Regions from separate parts of the Homo sapiens genome. Here region 1 is linked to region 2. Evidence: promoter capture Hi-C in 16 types of primary human blood cells and fetal thymus (Javierre and others, 2016). All regions are on one chromosome and are shown on one strand. Each heading gives the region's core, a stretch centred on a gene start or on the middle of the fragment in contact. The rest is flanking DNA. Distances are from core to core; before and after follow the strand shown.

Region 1 (4,125 bases), core at 1,626-4,125, 540 kb before region 2:
GTCAAGGGTTGAAAGATCATCCAGAAGGATGCAAGGGGCCAAGTAGTATGAAGAGGGGCAGGTTGAGATTGAAAGAACGAGTAATAGAGAAGGGATAATTGAGTATAGGGGTTCAAGGATGAAGGCCTAGGCAGAGGCCTCAGAAAGTACAGTCTTGCACCTTGATGGGGGTACACCTTGGTGGGGGTCAGAGAGTTCCAAAGCAGGCTGAGATGCCCCTTCTGGAAGATTCCTTGACTCTTCTCTTTCTCTCCCCCTCCATATTCAGTTCTTCAGAGAATTTCATTGACTCTGCTTTCTAAATGCTTTCAGACTCCACCCATTTCCACAACCTGCATCAGCACCACCCTAGTTTAAGCTGTGATCATCTCTCACCTGCGCAATGGAAAGAACCTCCCATCCAGTGTCCCTTGTCCACCCCTACCATCTGATGCTCTATTCTTACCCAGCAGCCAGAGTGAGCCAAGCTCCTCAGGTTAGAAGGTCCTACTAGATTTGGCCTCTTTGACCTCTCTGATCACATTCCTCCTTCTCCTTCTGTTTTATGCCATTTCAGACACACTAACACACCTTTAATTTTCTGAACATGTTATGGGGCTTTGCACTTGCTGTTCCCTGCACTTGGAATCTTCTTACTCCAGAAATCTCCAGCGCTCACACACTCCCTGTAATCAGGTCTCGCTCAAATGTCACTTCCTCTGAGGGGTCTTTTCTGACCACCTCACCTAGCAAAGAGTCCTTCTTCCCACTGGAACCCCCAAACATACACACTATTTCTTTTCCTTTCTGTTTTTTATTTGTTTGTTTGTTTGTTTTGGAGATACTCTCGCTCTGTTGCCCAGGCTGGACTGCAGTGGTGTGATCTCAGCTCGTTGCAACCTCTGCCTCCCAGGTTCAAGCGATTCTCATGCCTCAGCCTCCCAAGTAGCTGGGACCACAAGTGTGCACCACCACGGCTGGCTAATTTTTGTATTTTTTGTAGAGACAGGGTTTCGCCATGTTGGCCAGGCTGGTCTCGAACTCCTGACATCAAGTGATCCCCCTGCCTTGGCCTCCCAAGGTGCTGGGATTATAGGCATGAGCCACTGTGCCCGCCCACACATTTCTATACTCCACTTTTCTTCAGAACACGTTACATTATATTATATACTTGTTTCATTGTCTGTGTTTCCCACCAGAATGTAAGCTTCATGAGAGCAGAGACTTTTCTTAACACGTAGTAGGTGCTCAATAAATAAATGAAGGAGTCTAGCAAATGGGAACTGAGAGCTGCCAGAGTCACGGGTGTCTCTGGGAAAGAGGTAATAATTAACACACAAGGAAAGATTCCTGGTTGGGCACAGTAGCTCATGCCTGTAATCTCTGCACTTTGGGAGGCTGAGGCGGGCAGATCACCAGGTCAGGAGTTCAACACCAGGCTGCCCAACATGGTGAAACACTGTCTCTACTAAAAGTACAAAAATTATCCGGGTGTGGTGGTGCACGCCTGTAGTCCCAGTGACTCAGGAGGCTGAGGCAGGAGAATCACTTGAACCCGGGAGGTGGAGGTTGCAGTGAGACAAGATTACACCACTGCATTCCAGCCTGGGTCACAGAGTGAGAACCTGTCTCTTAAAATAAAATGAAAAATAAAACGTATATCTGATAACCATAGTCCCTTACTCAACACCTTCAGTGGCTTCCCAATGGTCCCAACCCCTTAACACACCATACAATGCCCTCTAGGTTCTGGCACTCGATTTCTTCTCAGCTCATTTCTTGTCACTTCTCTCCTACAGTCAAGTTTGGGCCCAGCAGACTGTCCTGGTCCTCTAACTGGGCTCCTTTCTGGGCCTGCAGAGGTGCTGTTTCTTCAGTCTGCGATTCCTTACCTCCCCTCTGTCTCTTCCTCTGCTGCTGCCTTCTGTTCTTTGGCATTCAACCGAGTTTTCCTTTCCTCTGAGAAGCCTGGGACCTACCCCGACCAAAGCTCCCTCCTCCTTGCCCCTCCCCCAATAACACAGGGTTGGGGTCTCTGCATTTGCTTCCTCAACACTGTACTTTTCTTGTCATGTCTATTTTATGGTCTGTGTCCCCACTAGACTGCAAGTTGCATGAGGGCAGGGCGGTCTATTCTGCTTTGGTCGCCTCGTGACGGTGTCTACCCAGCAAGTTGTGTGTGTTGGGTAAGTAGTGAGAAAACGAAAAAGCACTTGCTTTACAGGGCGGTTGGTCATAAAATAATAATAGCTTATATTTACTGACCACTTGTGATGTATCAGGCACCATTCTAAATGCTTTACAAGTATGTCACAGATTTCTCCCATAACCCTCTTAAGTAAGGGTTATTTCCTCCACATAGCAGATGGGGAAATTGAGGCACAGAGAGGTTAAGTAACTTGCCAAGGGCCACAGCGAGGAAGTGGAGGAACCGGCGTTAGAACCCAGGCTGTTTCCAGAGTCCAAATTCTATCCAAGAGTGAAGTGCAATATGGGGTTCCACTTCGTGAACAGATTCAAGTCTCCAAAGGGCTTTGTTTTTGTTTCCAGGAGGAAGGACGAGCTTCTGTGCCGCCGGCTTCCCAGGTTATGGGTGGCCAGCTGGGCTTTGGGAAGGGCCTGTACATCTCGCCGGCGGCCCCGGAGTCTGGGTGTGAAGCCCTGATTAACTTGCCGGGCTGCTCGGCCCACACGCCAGCCCTGCCCAGGTCCTCCGGTGCCCCGGGCCACCCTCATGCCCCCGCCAGGCCCGGGGCCGGGACTCGCGTCTCCAGGGGCGGGGCCGGGGGCGGGGCCGGGCCTCTCTTCGAGGCCGCCGCCCTGGCCCCGCGCTCGCCTCGCCGAGTGCGGCGGGCCGGGCTGGAGCTGGAGGGGCGGGGACTCGGGAGGGGCCGCAGCGCGGCTGCTGGTGCCGTTGCGGGAGAAGAGGAAGCGGCGCGTCCCCTGAGGCGTGCGCCTGGATGGACTGAAGGACGGTCCGACGCGCGCGGAGGGAGAGGGCCAGGGGCGAGGTCAGGCTCGGCGGGGGCGCGGGCGGCGCCCGGAGGGGGCCCCGGGGAGGGAGGCGGGGAGGCGTGGAGCGGGGAGCGGGGAGCGGGGAGTGGGGAGCGGGCCCGCGCCGGCTGAGCTCCGGGTCGGGCCCGAGACCCCTCCCCTGGCTGGGCGGGCGCGCTGCGAGCGCGCTCCGGCAGCTGAAAGCGGAGCTCCGGACTCCCTTCTTCCCCGGTTTCTTTTCTTTCCAATCAGCGAGATATAAACACCCTGCAAGGTAAAACAATAGCGGGGCCACCTGGGACGCGTCGCGCGCAGAGCTCCCACGGTTGGGGCGGGGGCCGGGAGTCGCGGCCCCACCGCGGAGCCCCTTCCCGATTTGCCCTGGCGGAGGGTGGGGCTACCTGCGGCGCCCGGGCTCGGTAGGAGGTGACGGGAATTCCCAGGAGTGAAGCATTTGGTGGAAGTATTTCAGGAACAATCGGGCTTCCCACTGTTGCCCTGCTCTGGGCAGGGAAACTGAGGCGGAGGGAAAGACAGAGACTTGCCCAAGGTCAGAATGCAGAGGTTGACTGTCCTGGTCCAGGAACCGGACCCAGGTGTCCGGACCAGCTCAGCGCTCAGCCCCAGTGGGTTTTGCAGCTTTGCCTTTGATAAAAATCTCTGTTGTGTTTGTTTTAGAAATCTGCTCGCGCTGGGGTACCGCTTCAGGGCTGCCGAACGCCAACTTGCTTCGTGTGCCCTAGGCAGGCGTGGGGCAGGTGGCGCCTCCGTGACCTACCACCATGGATGGAAACGGACTTTTTGGTGAAGAAACCCAAACGGTTGATGCCAGGCAGGGTGATTTGGCCGTCAAAGGTTTTGACGAAACCTGCCCTGTTCTCTCTGGGGAATCCGAATGAGGGAGATCACAGACACCTTCACTGAGAAGCCAAGGACATTTCTGTATAATCAGTGGATGAAAGGATTTTCTCAGACCCTTTTTTCCGTGCTTCTGGAGGATTAATCCACTACAGTCTGCAATTTCAGTGGAAACTGCAAGGCACACGATGTGGCAGGAGCCGGGAGCGACTTCCGAATTGTTGTGGACCCTTCCTGTAGCATAGGGGAGTTTTCACACTTGCCTCCACTCCTCCCCTTCCCCCCAACTCCCTC
Region 2 (4,246 bases), core at 244-2,743:
GCTAGTTTACATATTTCCATAATACGTAGTAATTTGTTGGATGGCAAATATAGATACTAGAACCTCATCCTGAATTTTTCACACATGCTACCCCTTCTGAGTGGCTCTGGCCAGGCCCTACAGAGGCCACAGGAAGAATGACCTATCCAAAGCTGCCCCTGGGTCTTCTCCAACCTGCCCCACACTCACCTGCAGATGGTGGGACGTGATAACCGGCCTGTTCCCTGGGCACCAGATGTCCTCCTTCAGGTGCCTCATGACCTGAAAACACTTCCTACGGCAGCCCCCATCTTCATCCAGCTGTTCCAGTAACACCTGCTCAGCACGGAGGAAGCTCAGCTGCCAGTGATAATTTGAACAGGCCAACAAGTTAAATCCAAACGACTGGAAGAAAGAGAAAAATATTGGGAAATAAGAAGAACAATGCTCACTGGTGTAGAAAGCCATTTCTGAAGCAGTCTGCTGGTCTGGGGAACTTGTCACCAGGCAGACAGCACATCCTACGTGGGGATGAGAAGGGGGTGCCAGGGAGACCACAAGCCACCTTGGATGTGGACAGTTAGAAGATGGTGCCCACTTCCTCTCCTACAGCAGTTCTCCAACTTGAGCATACATCAGAATCACATCACCCAGAGGGCTTCTTAAAACACAGATTGCTGGGCCCTGTTCACAGGGTCTCATTCAGCAGGTCCAGAGTGGGGGCTCGGGAAGCTGCATTTCTAACAAGTTCTCAGGTGACGCTGCTGCAGGGCCCACACTTTGAGAACTGCTGATCTAGTAACACCTCAACTTTCCTTCGGAAACTCATTGGCAGTCAGTAATGCTGTGACTGGTTAAGCTGTTGGCATCACTGCTCTGGCAAGCTGGGTCCCGCCCACTGATACCTTGATGCACTCCACTCTCTCTTGGGAAGGCCAGCGCTGCAGACATCGAGGCCACCGGGCTTTCTTGGACCAGGTGGTGGGGATCTCCACTGCGGGGACCAGCTCCAGTTCCACCTGATATGCAGATGTTTCCACAGCAACCCAAACTGCAGAGCGGTTTCCTAGCAGGCTGACCTTACCTGGTGGGAAATGACCAAATGGATAAGGAGAAGAGAAAGGTTTGCACATTACAAGCGTTCAAACAAGAAATTTGTGAGCAGTTGCTCTGACCAGCACCTTGCAACTGGTGTGGCAACTTTCACAATGTCTGTAGCACGTGAAGGATCACAATGCCTGTAGCACGTCAAGGTTTTGACATCAAAACCAGATGGTTAGTCAGCTAGCCAGCATCGGAACATTACTAAGAAGTCTCATTGCTGGTGAGTTTTTCTTTCTCCCCCAACCCCAAGGCATTTGGGGTACCTTTTCTTTTAAATTAATAGATTCTTTTCAGGAGGATCAACTGAAAGTAAAAGCCATAGAATAAAAAGAAAAAGTGTAGTATAGATGCTCCTTGACTTACGATGAGGTCACATCCTGATGAAGCTGAAAATATTCTAAGTTGAAAATGTATTAATACACCGAACCTACCAAACATCATAGCTTAGCCTACCCTACCTTAAAAGTGCTCAGAACACTTACATTAACTTACAGTTGGGCAAAATCATCTAACACAAAGCCTATTTTATAATAAAGTGTTGAATATCTCATGGAATTCATTGAATGGTTGTATGGGTACTCGAAGTATGGGTTCTACTAAACATGTATCACTTTCGCACCCTTGTAAAGTAAAAAAATCATATGTTGAGCCATGGCAAGTTGGGGAACTTCTGTATTTGCTACTGTAAAAATGAAACCTAACTATTTTTCTATATCCTTCTCCATTCCACCCAAATATCTAAATGTTGGTTTTCAGAGTAATGCAAACATAGGGAAGGCTAATGCCATTTTTTTTCCCTCTTCACCTAGATATTCTGACACTGGTTAGGGACAGCATCAGCCTCCTTATTTATGCATATGCCTTTGGTGAAATTTGGCTTCACCTTTCTTTTATCTGAGCCTCAGTCTCTTAGATGGTATTTGTTTTTACCATCCATTCAGCCAGCCGAGCCTCAGAGGTATCTATCATCAGAAACCCCTGTAACCACAAAATACATCAAAGCACGTCACAGCCACTGTTTCAGAGGATTGAGTGATTTGAAAGAAGTCTCCATTGCCTCGTTTTCCAACCAGGCAAAGAGAAGAAGAGAAAACTAACGCATCTAGTAGTTTTCCAGCTCACATACTATAATTTCCTCATTTCCAATTTGCTCCTTCTTCTTTCAAAAGGTACAGTTTTTGTTTGTTTGCCTTCATTGCAGATAAAGATAAGCAGTCTTGAATAGATCAGGATCTATTCATCCTTATTTGCTCATCCCAATTCTTGAAATAGATTGGAATCTATTATTTTGCATTTCCTTGCACAGAGAAGAAAATGGAAGCACATTAATTGTGTTAGGCTGTTCAAAAGGGAAACATTCCCTGGCCAGGGTGGGATAAAGGGCTTGTCTGCATCTCATCAGAGCTGCCCAGACAGGAACATGACAACTGGCACTTTAGCATTATTTACTAAAAGCGCCTCATAAACCTTGCCCATTCTGAATCTCTGCTTTGCACTTTCACCATGAATAATGTCGCACAGCATAAGAGGTGAGCCGATGCTGCAGCCAGCCTGCCGGCCCACACCCTGCCGGCCCACACCCTGCCCTGCAGCTGGCTCTGCTTATGAGGTGTGTGAACTTCAGAAGTGACTTAATCTCTCTAAGTCTCAGTTTCCTCATCTCTAAAACAGGTAGGAAAAGAATTCTTACTGTATTGTGTGGTTATGAGGATTAAATTAAATAACCCATGAAACTTATTCTACTTAGTAAAAAAATCTATTAAACATAAACTATTACCATTATGGAAATTTTCAGAACTATTCTGTCTAGACAAACAAATGTATGTATGAATACATCCTTTTATTTTCACACAGATGGAATCTCATATTGTTTAGCAGTTTGGTTTTTCACTTAACTATTTAGCACATGCATTTTTCATAGCTCTGTATGTATGCATGGGCATATGCCTGTTCTTTTTAAAGGCTGCATAGTAGTCCAGTAGGCAGAGATAGCATAATTTAATTTAGCCAATTTTCCTTTGTTAGCCATTTAGATTACTTCTAGCTATTTACTATTATAAAACCTATGGCAGAGAATATCCTGGTGCACAATTCTTTGTGTATTTGTAGAAATATATTTCTAGAACTGGAATTGTTGAATTGTCAAGTAAGCACATTATAAAAATAAAATATAGACAACTTGCCCTTTAAAAAGGAGACACCAATTTACACTTCTAATAACAACATGAGAATACCCATTTCACCATGCCCACTCGACACTAAGCATGATCAAACTTTTCATTTCTTTTAGCTTGCTAGGTATTTTAATGCACCCAACATTAGGTATATTCTAATATACGTTGAAATATACATTAGATGGAATGCCTTTTCTTATTTTTGCAAGCCATTTGTATTCTTTTTCTGTGATTCCTTTTTTTTTTTTGGTAATTATCTCTATTGGTCAGCTCATCTTTTTTCTTATTGATTTATAAATTAAGAAAATTAGCCATTTCTTTCCAGTTTGAAATTCACCTTTTCGCTTTGTGTGAACAAAAAGGGAGTGTGTGTGTGTGTGTATGTGTGTGTGTGTGTGTGTATGCATATGCTGTACAGTAGCTTAAGACTTTGGAGTTGTCAAACTTAGTCAGTTCTTTATGGCTCCTGGATTTTGTGCTTTGGTACAAGTTAGTGGTTTCCAAATGTGGAATCTCAGCACCCTGTGGTACTGCAGTCAGATGGAGGTGCTGCAGTAGAAATGTGCTAATAAAGAAGACCTGGGGTTTGTGAATAATTTGCTTTTTTAAAAAACAATACGCTTAAGTTTTTAAGCCTGGTTAAGGTGCATAATCCACAGCATTTTATATCTATGCCAGCACAGTAACTTTCTTAAAGCCACAAGACTATTTTGTTAGTATGAATTCCAATCTTCTGTGCATCAACAGCAGGAAAAAAAGCTGATTCATATTATGAAGATTAAATAAATGTGAAGAGCACATGATTATTTTCTCAAATGTAGGCTGTGAGCTGCAGGTAACACCCAAACAGAGGTTTTATAGAGTGAAAGGGGAATGCCAGCAATTACCCTTGCACTTGTTCCTGATCAGCTCACCTGAGAGGTGACAGGTTCTAACTGCATTTTCCACCAGCTTCCGGAACACTAGGAGGACCTTGGCAGGCACAATGT

The links. The method cuts DNA at HindIII sites, captures the fragments that hold promoters and counts their contacts. A CHiCAGO score of 5 or more calls a contact.
Region 1: a contact is called between the fragment with the promoter of IGSF3 here and a fragment that was not itself captured in region 2, in 1 of 17 cell types (total B cells). The highest score is 5.1, in total B cells.

Annotation. Positions count from the first base shown.
Region 1 is chr1:116,666,483-116,670,607 of GRCh38, reverse strand. IGSF3 (immunoglobulin superfamily member 3) reads left to right here and starts at 2,875. Exons shown (of 11, transcript NM_001007237.3): 1 at 2,875-2,990; 2 at 3,652-4,125. RefSeq lists a silencer at 2,641-3,030. The HindIII fragment of the contact is 3,697 bases long and covers 1,189-4,125 here.
Region 2 is chr1:116,124,283-116,128,528 of GRCh38, reverse strand. It overlaps MAB21L3 (mab-21 like 3), which reads right to left. Exons shown (of 8, transcript NM_152367.3): 5 at 4,172-4,246; 6 at 885-1,063; 7 at 190-384. Among named protein-coding and RNA genes, the nearest start is that of MAB21L3, 15 kb to the right of the region's middle. The HindIII fragment of the contact is 7,397 bases long and covers 1-4,246 here.